Regions from separate parts of the Homo sapiens genome. Here regions 2 and 3 are each linked to region 1. Evidence: promoter capture Hi-C in human tissues and cell types (Jung and others, 2019). All regions are on one chromosome and are shown on one strand. Each heading gives the region's core, a stretch centred on a gene start or on the middle of the fragment in contact. The rest is flanking DNA. Distances are from core to core; before and after follow the strand shown. Region 1 holds the start of CENPV (centromere protein V). Region 2 overlaps NCOR1 (nuclear receptor corepressor 1). Region 3 overlaps NCOR1 (nuclear receptor corepressor 1).

Evidence for each region. Contacts are between HindIII fragments. The study calls those that stand out against the background at their distance.
Region 2: a contact is called between a fragment that was not itself captured here and the fragment with the promoter of CENPV in region 1, in 1 of the 25 tissues and cell types used here (aorta).
Region 3: a contact is called between a fragment that was not itself captured here and the fragment with the promoter of CENPV in region 1, in 2 of the 25 tissues and cell types used here (adrenal gland and hippocampus).

The regions. Positions count from the first base shown.
Region 1 is chr17:16,352,061-16,355,074 of GRCh38, forward strand. CENPV (centromere protein V) reads right to left here and starts at 1,409. Exons shown (of 5, transcript NM_181716.3): 1 at 967-1,409. The coding sequence starts at 1,376. RefSeq lists silencers at 799-1,408, 1,469-1,618. The HindIII fragment of the contact is 38,840 bases long and covers 102-3,014 here.
Region 2 is chr17:16,077,206-16,080,590 of GRCh38, forward strand. NCOR1 (nuclear receptor corepressor 1) reads right to left here. Exons shown (of 46, transcript NM_006311.4): 25 at 3,203-3,304; 26 at 2,759-2,859. Among named protein-coding and RNA genes, the nearest start is that of SNORD163, 74 kb to the right of the region's middle. The HindIII fragment of the contact is 6,091 bases long and covers 1-3,385 here.
Region 3 is chr17:16,033,871-16,037,331 of GRCh38, forward strand. It overlaps NCOR1 (nuclear receptor corepressor 1), which reads right to left. Exons shown (of 46, transcript NM_006311.4): 45 at 895-1,074. It also overlaps a transcript of TTC19 not described here. Among named protein-coding and RNA genes, the nearest start is that of TTC19, 36 kb to the left of the region's middle. The HindIII fragment of the contact is 6,456 bases long and covers 1-3,461 here.

The sequences.
Region 1 (3,014 bases), core at 159-2,658:
AAGGAACATGTTCAAGAAAAGAAGTAATTCTCAGGTTATGCAATTGCTAGGTTATTCTTGTCGGTTTTTTCCCCCTAGTGTTTTGATTGTTCTTTTTAATTCGTAAAATTGACACTGAAATATAATATCAGGGCGTTAAAATATCTCTCTGTAGCACAACTGTTCCCCGAGGCAGGAATCCAGATCGCATTTGGAGAAAAGAAGGCAGCCCTTTAACAGCCCAGTTAAAAGCTCTTTCCCAAATCGCGGACACTCGAGATGCTCCTCGGGCCATCTAAAAGACTGCGGAGCAGCCAGGAGGGCGAGCGGCAGGGAGCATTAGCTGGCTGAGCACATAAAAGCCTCCCTACGTAGGTATCCCCGCCGCCGCGCGAGGCCGGAGCATCTCTTCGCGCGCGCTTCTCTCCCGGATCAATAACCTCCGCCCCCTGCTCCCTCCCTGGCAGTGCCTGGAACAATGACGGGATTTTGCTTCCCAGTGAGTTCAAAACTATTCATGCTTCCTTCAACGCTTCTACCTTTCCCTTCCACCCACCCTCAAAAACACGTGTGCAAACACAAAAAAAAAGGGGATTCGGGTAAGAGAAAGCCGTGGGATTTATGTTCTTTTCACTAAGAAAGGCCCCCACACCCTTTGCGCGCCAGCAAGAGACAACGTCCCCGAGCACGATGCTTATGGCCGGGAAAGACTCTTTGTGTCCCAAGACGGCTGCGCGCGCCCTCAAGCTCCGGACGAAGCCCCCTTTCCATTCCCAGGCCACACAGCCCTAGAAGCACCGCCCCGCCCCGCCGCCCTTAGAATTAAGGAATAACCCCAGTGCTAACGGGGGAGCCGCGTCGGCTCCGTAACGTGGAAGGCTCAGAGCTGAAAGGCGCCCAAGGCCTGCACGCGGGCTGCGAGCCCGACTCCTGCCGAGGGGGTCCGCGTGGCAACGGCTCCCGCGCCCCCCGGCCCGCCGCACTCACAAGGTGTCTAGCAGGAGCTTGGCGGCACCCTCGGAGGTAAGCTTCTGCCGCTTCTGGAACGTCTCCCAGCGCTCCCGCTGCTCGCCCAGGTCCAGGTTGGACGCCGAGGACGTCGGGGTCGCGGGAGTCGGCGGCGGCGGCGGCGGTGGCGGGAGCAACGCCAGCTCAGGCGGCGGCGGCTCCCCCGGGCCCTCCTCCTGGGCCCGCGGCGACGAGCGCCTCAGCCGCGGCTTCTCCGACGGCGGCTTCTCCACCGCCTGGCTCTTGCTCCCGGCCTGGCTAGCGGAGCGCCGTGTGCGGGTGGCGCTGGGTGCCAAGGCAGCGGCCGCGGAGGCCGCGGGGGCCGCGGAGGCCCCGGACCGCTTCTGCCCGCGCAGCTTGGCGGCCGCAGAGCTCCTCGATCGCCGCATGGCTCCCGCAGCCTGGCGCGCAGGCCTCGCAGCGCGGCGCGCCCCCGCCGGCCTGCGCGCGCCCCCGCCGCCCGCCAGTCTTCAGGCCCAGGGGGCGCTGCGCCCGGCTGCCCCGCTCCGCCAGCCGCGCCCCGCAGCGCGGCGCCTGCCCGCAGGAGGGAGACCCGGCCCGCCCGGCCGCTGGGACGCACCTGCCTGTTCAGTCCCGCAGGCAGAGGGGCTGCGCCTGGGCCTACGCTCGCGATACCCAGAATCCACTCGCACCTGCGAAGGCGCCCCTGCCCTGTGTGAATCCAGCGGGCTCTTCGTACCTTCCCGACCTGGAGGGGCCTGGGTTGGGCCTGAATTCGCAGGCTCATCCGAGCGGGCAGCCTGGGGTAACTTCGTCTCCAAAAACGAGCTAATTTGTGTAAACGGCCTGCCACCTGCTACCTCCTGTGTAACAGCGGCCGAAACCATAGTTCTTCACCTTCGTCTTTTCTGTCACATTATAGAACAGTGTCATGAGGATACCAATAGTCAACAGATTTGGGGTTTCATTTTAATTAAATGAATGACCCGCGCGTCGAATTTCATTAGTATGATTTTGATGAAGGCAGCACCAAAGTTTAAAGACAAAAGGCACGAGAATCGTTGATGGAACCCAGATAGTCTTCTTCTCCTTCTCCTTCTTCTTCTTTTTTCAGACCGAGTTTCGCTCTTGTTGCCCAGGCTGGAGTGCAGTGACGCGATCTCGCCTCACCGCAACCTCCGCCTCCCAGGTTCAAGCGATTCTCCTGCCTCAGCCTCCTGAGTAGCTGGGATTACAGGCATTCGCCACCACACCCGGCTAATTTTGTATTTTTAGTAGAGACGGGGTTTCACCATGTTGGTCAGGCTGGTGCCGAATACTCCCGACCTCAGGTGATCCATCCGCCTCGGCCTCCCAAAGCGCTGGGATTACAGGCCTGAGCCACCGGGCCCAGCCTATCTTTCTTTTTTTTTTTTTTTTTTTTTTCTTTTTTGGAGTCTCACTCTGTCGCCAGGCTGGAGTGCAGTGGCGCGATCTCGGTTCACGCAACCTCCGCCTCACCGTTCCAGCGATTCTCCTGCGTCAGCCTATCTTTCTTCTTTATTCTGATTTTCTTCATGGTATTGTTAGTTTAATAGTTTATTGAATTAAAGGCATAGTTTAACTATTTTGTCTTTTTTTTTTTTTTTCCATACAGGATCTGACAGACTGGAGTGCAGTAGCGGGATCTCGGCTCAGTGTAGCCAAGAACTCCTGGCCTCAAGCGATCCTGCCGCCTGGGCCTCTGGAGTAGCTGAGTAGCTGGAACAACAGGCGGCGCCCCCCCCCCCCCCCCCCCGCCCCAGCGAATTGTTGCTATTGTTGTTTTGTAGATACCGGGTTTCCCTATGTTGCCCAGGCTGGTCTCTAACTCCTGGCCTCAAGCGATCCTCCCGCCTAGTTCTCCCCAAGTGTTGGGATTACAGGCGTGAGCCACCGAGCCCCACCTTGCCATTTTGTCGTTGTTGTTGTTGGAATTATGGTTTACACACAGCAACGTGCAAATATCTTAGATGTACAGCTTATGTGACCACCACCACTTCAGATACAGAACATTTTCAGCACACCAGAGTTTCCCTCAGGCAAAA
Region 2 (3,385 bases), core at 764-3,263, 270 kb before region 1:
GGCCAACATGGCGAAACCCCATCTCTACTAAAAATACAAAAATTAGCCAGGCACGGCTGCGCACACCTGTAATTCCAGCTACTTGGGTGGCTGAGGTAGGAGAATCACTTGAACCCTGGAGGCAGAGGTTGCAGTGAGCTGAGATGGCACCACTGCACTCCATGCTCCAGCCTGGGCAACAGAGCAAGACTCTGTCAAAAAAGCAAGCAAGCAAAAAGGAAGGAAAGGAAAGGTAAGGAAAGGGAAGGAGAGGAGAGGGGAGGAGAGGGGAGGAGAGGGGAGGAGAGGGGAGGAGAGGGGAGGAGAGGGGAGGGGGGGAGGAGGGGGAGGAGAGGGGAGGAGAGGATAGGGGAGGGGAGGAGAGGGGGGAGGGGAGGGGGAGGGGAGAAGGGAGGGAAAAGAAAAGGAAGGGAGGAAGGGAGGAAGGGAAAAGAAAAGAGAAAAGAAAAGAGAAAGAAAATGCTTTCTAAGAGTTTGTTGAATCTCGAAGCATGTATTTTTATGCTACAGGAATGAACAAGATTATTTCTCACTGGCAAAAATGTGTTGATTGTAATGGTTCCTATTTTGATAAAGATGCGTTTGAGCCTAGTTATAATGATTTAAAATTCACAGTCCGAAATCACATCTTTGCACCAACCTAATATAAATTTTCTAATAAAAATAAGATGATAAAGTAGTTTTAAATTTAGAGTACTACAACTTTTTCTCAAATTGTGATATGAGGGAAAAATAACTTTCAAATATCAAACTGACTACTAGGTTGTTAGGCCTTTGGATGCCTCTGTGTTTTGACACTGATTCAGTTTAGGTCAGGTTATCTATATTTTCACCATCATCAATCCTCCTCTGGAGTTGCCAATGACCATGATTCTTTTTACCCTTCCTTTAAGCAGCGAGCCCTTCCTTCAAGGAAAATTGTTCATAGAATCTAATACGTAGAGCATTTTGCAAGAGAGAGCAGCTTGGTGTAAAATAGGAGTTAGAGGCCTAGACTGAGTTTACTCACATTTAGGGTCACCACTATACTCTGAGGACTGCTAAAACCCTAGAGAGCACAATCTGATACCATATGCTTAAGAAAAGCGATAAGAGACATACACTTACTTGTCCAGTCATTAAGTGAACTCATTAGTAAGTGTCTAGAAATCCTTAACGCCCACTTCAGAAGTACTCATGTCAAGTGCACAAACAGATTTTAAACAGATAAAATTTAGTCTCCTTTGGCCCAGTTCATACTCTTTCTTCCCACAGTTTGGATGCCAGAGTGAAGAGAAAGAATAATACATACAGGCCCATTTACTTTCCTCTGTCCATATTAAAGTATTAGCTTGCTGTTAAAACAGAAACACACTGACCCAATATAAATGGAGACTTTTTTTTTTTTTGAGACGGAGTCTCACTCTGCCACCCAGGCTGGAGTGCAGTGGCACAATCTCAGCTCACTGCAACCTCCGCCTCCCAGGTTCAAGTGATTCTCTTGCCTCAGCCTCCTGAGTAGCTGGGATTACAGGCGCACACCACTATGCCCGCCTAATTTTTGTATTTTTAGTAGAGACGGGGTTTCACCATGTTGGTCAGGCTGGTCTCAAACTCCTGACCTCGTGATCCGCTCTCCTTGGCCTCCCAAAGTGCTGGGATTACAGGCGTGAGCCACCGCGCCTGGCCTAAAAAGAGAGATTTTAAGAGTCAGTATGTAACTTTCTTTTCTTCTGTTTTTAACTTAACCACAAGGAAGTAGTATGTAAACTACATTTCAGAAAGAAATCACCTGGGAACCTCAGTAAAATGGGGATTTTAATTCACATGATCTAGAGTGCGGACTGACATTTCTGCATTATTCTAGCAAGCATCCCAGTGATGCCAATGCTCTGGTGCACAAACCACACTTGGCCAGCAAAGCCCTAGCTGAATCAGCTAAGGGCTTGGGAAAACACAGACTGCCAGTCCCCACCAACAAGGGTTGGGTTTCAGTAAATCTGGGGTAAGATCTGAAAATTTATATGTGTAGCAATTTTCTAGGTGATTCTGATGCTCCTGGTGTGGGGATCATACTTTGAGAACAACTGTCTTAGAGGATAGTAACTAGACAAATAAAAAACTTGTGACAATGAGTGAACACTTTAGAAAATGCAAGGCACAGGTTTCTGTTTACAATGATTTCCCAAAACAGAATTTTCCCTCTTATGCATATACATAAAGAGGCTAAGAACTTCTTAAGTATCAAGTTAAAATTAACAACTAACTGAGAGAAATTTTATTAATCAAAATTGGTGATGTATTTAGCCCAAAATTGGAAGGCTTCTGGTGCTTTTGTTAATACCATCCACATTTCCTGGTTTAGCATTAGATTCTAACAAGGCAGCCCACATACTGAGATTCTACAACTACATCTCCACCAGGGCAAAAGTAAGCAAATAATTCGTAATGATTTTCTTCTCAATTTCTATTTAGGCTAAACACATGGTAAAAGCTTTTCCAGGAAGACAATAAGAGCTGCATCAATTAGAACATATTTCTTTTTCCAGTTTGCAAATAAGTGACCTTTTCAAATGAACCAAAGTATTCATAATATAGCTTGTAGTCAAAATGATCACATTAACGTCTCTGTGGAGACAGTTTGCAGATCTAGGTTATGAGACCCAGTCCCATAATGCAGAAAAATGAACTTAAGCCACAAAATAGCCAAAGTGCTAAGAATTATTTATCATTTTTTCCTGAGCTTCTGTTGAGTATATCAGAGATGATCGTGACTAACCTGAGTGATAGAGCCCCGTAGGGATGGAATGCTCTCCACTGAAATTTTGCTGGTTGGAGTTCCCCGAGTTATACTTCCTTCTTGTATGGCTCCTGCGGTACCTGAATACAAACAAAGCTATTAGCAAATTACACCCCCAGCCCCTGCCCCAAAACATAAAAAAACAGCCCCTACTTGGGAGAGTACTCAACTAAGAAGAAAAGAAAAAAGCAGCACAAAACCCATCATGTTTGTTTTATTAAAATGTACTTCCAAAATAATACTAAAGAACTGCTGAAACATGGAACTTCAAGGTTTTAAAATGACTTTTACATGGAAAGAAAACAAATTTAGAATTTAAAGACTATAGTTAAAAAAGCCCATCATTAAAATATATTAATAACTTACTTTAATAAATTTATTGGGGACAAAAGTTTAACATTTCTGCCAACCAGCATATTTTACCTCTGACTACACCTTCATGTTGGGCCCTGACCAACAGACCCTCAGGTTGTGAGTTTTGGCTTCGGGGAGAAAATTCTTCCTGCTTGATGTAGGGCAAAGTAGCTGTGGAAAGGCAGAGAAACATGAAACAATCCAGTACTAAATTACTGGCTGTGATGCTACAAACGTAGATGCATTATGACT
Region 3 (3,461 bases), core at 562-3,061, 320 kb before region 1:
TCTCAGCTCACTGCAATTTCCGCCTCCCAGGTTCAAGTGATTCTCCCACCTCTGACCTCAAGTGATCTGCCCGCCTCAGCCTCCCAAAATGCTGGGATAACAGGCATGAGCCACCGCGCCCAGCTAGATGATGGCTTTTTAAACTAGTCTTCTCATTTCTAATTTTGATTTCTTAGTATTTCCCTAAGAACTTTTTCTAAGAATACCAATATGAAAGGTGAAGTACTCTTAGAAGTGGCATGGGTACATTCAGGTACAGTTCTCAAAAGAACTAAAACCACCTTATTTGCTTTGCAAATAGTCAATGTTCGCTACCAGTGTAATACAGAAGTGAGGAGAATGGTTGAGATTATTTTTTCATAGCTCTTCCTTTGTTTATGGTAATCAGGCTTTGCATTCTAAAAATGTTTCAGGTTATATGTGCATTCAGTTTCTATTCTGGGTGTGTGCATTGGTTGACTCCTGTAATACTAACACTTTGTGAGGCCAAGGCAGGAGGAATGAGTTCAGGAGTTCGAGACCAGCCTGGGCAACGTAGTGAGACCTTGTCCCTACAAAAAATAAAAATTAAAATGAAAATGAAAAAAATTAGCCAGGCATGGTCGTGCACGCCTGTAGTCCCAGCTACTTGGGTCGCTCAGGTGAGAGGATCACCTGAGCCTCAGAGGTCGAGGCTGCAGTGAGCCATGATCATGCCATTGCATTCCAGCCTGGGTGACAGAACAAGACCCCTCAAAAAAATACTTCTATTCGGGAAAGTGGAACATATTAATGATACAGAAATGGGAATATAGGTTTCCAAATTAGAAGAGTTGCTGAATTTTGAAGAACTAATAACCAAGACATTGATATTATTGCTCTGTCTCATTTTCTAAGTTAAAGCAGAATCCTTACCTGTTGAAGAGGGCCTGTCTTCCCAGGCCCACCCTGGCGTCTGCCTATGGTAATCCCCTTCTGAATGTACAGAGGAGACTGAAGAGGGCCGTTCCGTTCCTAAGTAGCCTTGCCCAGGTATAGGAGACTTAGATTTCCTGCTGTTTGACTTGCTGATCAGCTTTGGTTTGCAAACTCCTCCTGAAAGTGAAATTCAAGTTAAAGTATTAATATATTAAGTTCTCAAAAATTACCAAAATGCTAATGATTATATATTGCTAAATGAAAAAAAAGCAGAATGGTAACATGAAGAATCCAGATCCTGGTACTCAATGAAATAAAATACTACAGGCATACCTCAGAGATACTGAGGGTTTAGTAAGTCACAATTATTTTGCTGGTGGATGGTCTTGCCTCCATGTTGATGGCTGCTGACTAATCTGCATGGCGGTTGCCAAAGGCTGGGATGGCTGTGGCAATTTCTTTTCCTTTCATGAAAGACTTATTTGTAGCATGCAATGATAGCATTTTAGCCACAGTAGAACTTTCAAAATTGGAGTTGATCCCTCAAACCCTTCTTTATTAACTGGGTTTATGTAATGTAGTATTCTAAATCCTTTGTTGTCATTTCAGCCATGTTCACAGCATCTTCAGGGGCAGATTCAATCTCAAGAAACCACTTTCTTTGCTCATCCCTAAGAAGCAACTCCTCATCCATTTCAAGTTTGATCATGAGATTGCAGCAATTCAGTTACATCTTCAGGCTCCACTACTAGTTCTCTTGTTCTTTTTTTTTTTTTTTTTTTTTTAAGGCAGGGTCTCACCTCTGCTGCCCAGGCTGCACTGCAGTGGCACAATCACGGCTTACCAGCTCACTAAAGCCTCAACTTCTTGGGCTCAAGCAATCCTCCCACCTCAGACCCAAGTAGCTGGGACCACAGGTACACACCACCACACCCGGCTACTTTTTAAAATTTTTGTAGAGATGGGGTCTCACCATGTTGCCCAGGTTGGTCTCAAACTCCTGGGTTCAAGTGATTCTACTGCCTCAGCCACCCAAAGTGCTGGGATTACAGGCATGAGTCATCATACCCGGCCTCTCTTGCTATTTCTCCTACACCTGCAGTGACTCCCTCCACTGACGTCTTGATCCCCTCCCAAGTTATCCATGGGAGCTGGAATCATCTTTTTCCAAACTCCTGTTAATGTTGATATTCTTACCTCCTCCCATGAATTACAAATGTCGTTAATAGCATCTAAAATGGTGAATCCTTTTCAGAAGGTTTTCAGTTTACTTTGCTCAGATCCGTCAGAGGAATCACTATGGCAGCTATTGCCTTATGAAATGTATTTCTTAAATAATAAGACTTGAAAGTAGAAATTATTCCTTGATCCATGGGCTTCAGAATGGATGTTGTGTTAGCAGGCATGAAAACAACATTCATCTCCTTGAACCTTTCCATCAGAGCTCTTGGGTGACTAAGTGGATTGTTAATGAGCAGTATTGAAAATTATTTTTTCTAAGCAGTAGGTCTGAACAGTGGGCTTAAAATATTCAGCAAGCCATTCTGTAAACACATGCTGTCATCTAGGCTTTGTTCCATTTCTAGAGCACAGGCGAGTAGACCAAGCATAATTCTTAAGTGGCCTAGGATTTTCAGAATGGTAAAGGAGCACTGGCTTCAACTTAAAAGTCACCACCTGCATTAGCCCCTAACAAGAGAGTCAGCCTGTCTTTTGAAGTTTTGGACTCTTCCAGTAGAAGGCTGTTTTGTCTACATGGAAGATCTGTTGTTTAATGCAGTCACCTTTATCAAAGATCTTAGCTAGGTCTTCTGAGTAACTTGCTGCAACATCTTCATCAGCACTTTCTCCCTCACCTTGCACTTTTATGTTACAGAGACGGCTTCTTCAACCTCTGAATGGCCTCTGCTAGCTTCAGCCTTCTCATCTGTGGCTTCCTCGCCTCTCTGAGCCTTCAGAGAATTGAAGAGTTAGGGCTTGGATTAGGATTAGGTTTTGGCTTAAGGGAATGTTGTGGCTGGTTTGGTCTTCTATCCAGACCACTAAAATCTTCTGTGTGTCACGAAACACTGTTTTGCTTTATTACCATTTGTGTGTTCACTGGAATAGCACTTTCAATTTCCTTCAAAAACTTTTCCTTTGCATTCACAATTTGGCTAACTGTTTGGCACATGAGGTCTAGCTTTCAGCCTGTCTTGGCTTTCAACATGCCTTTCTCACTAAGCTTAATCATTTCTAACTTTTCATTTCAAGTGACAGACTTAGTGATTCTTCTTTTCACTTGAACACTTAGAAGCCATTGCAGGGTTAATTGGCCGAATTTGAATATTGTTGTGTGTCAGGGAATAAGGGAGCCAGAGGAGGAGAGAGACAGGGAACAACCAGTCAGTGGAGGAGTCAGGACACACACCACCTTTATGGGTTGTTTGCCATCTTATACAGGTGCTCCTCATGGTGCCCCCAAACAATTACAATAGTAATATCAAAGGTCACTGATCACCATCACAGAGATAATAATCATGAACAAGTTTGAAATATTGTGAGAATTACCAAAATATGACACA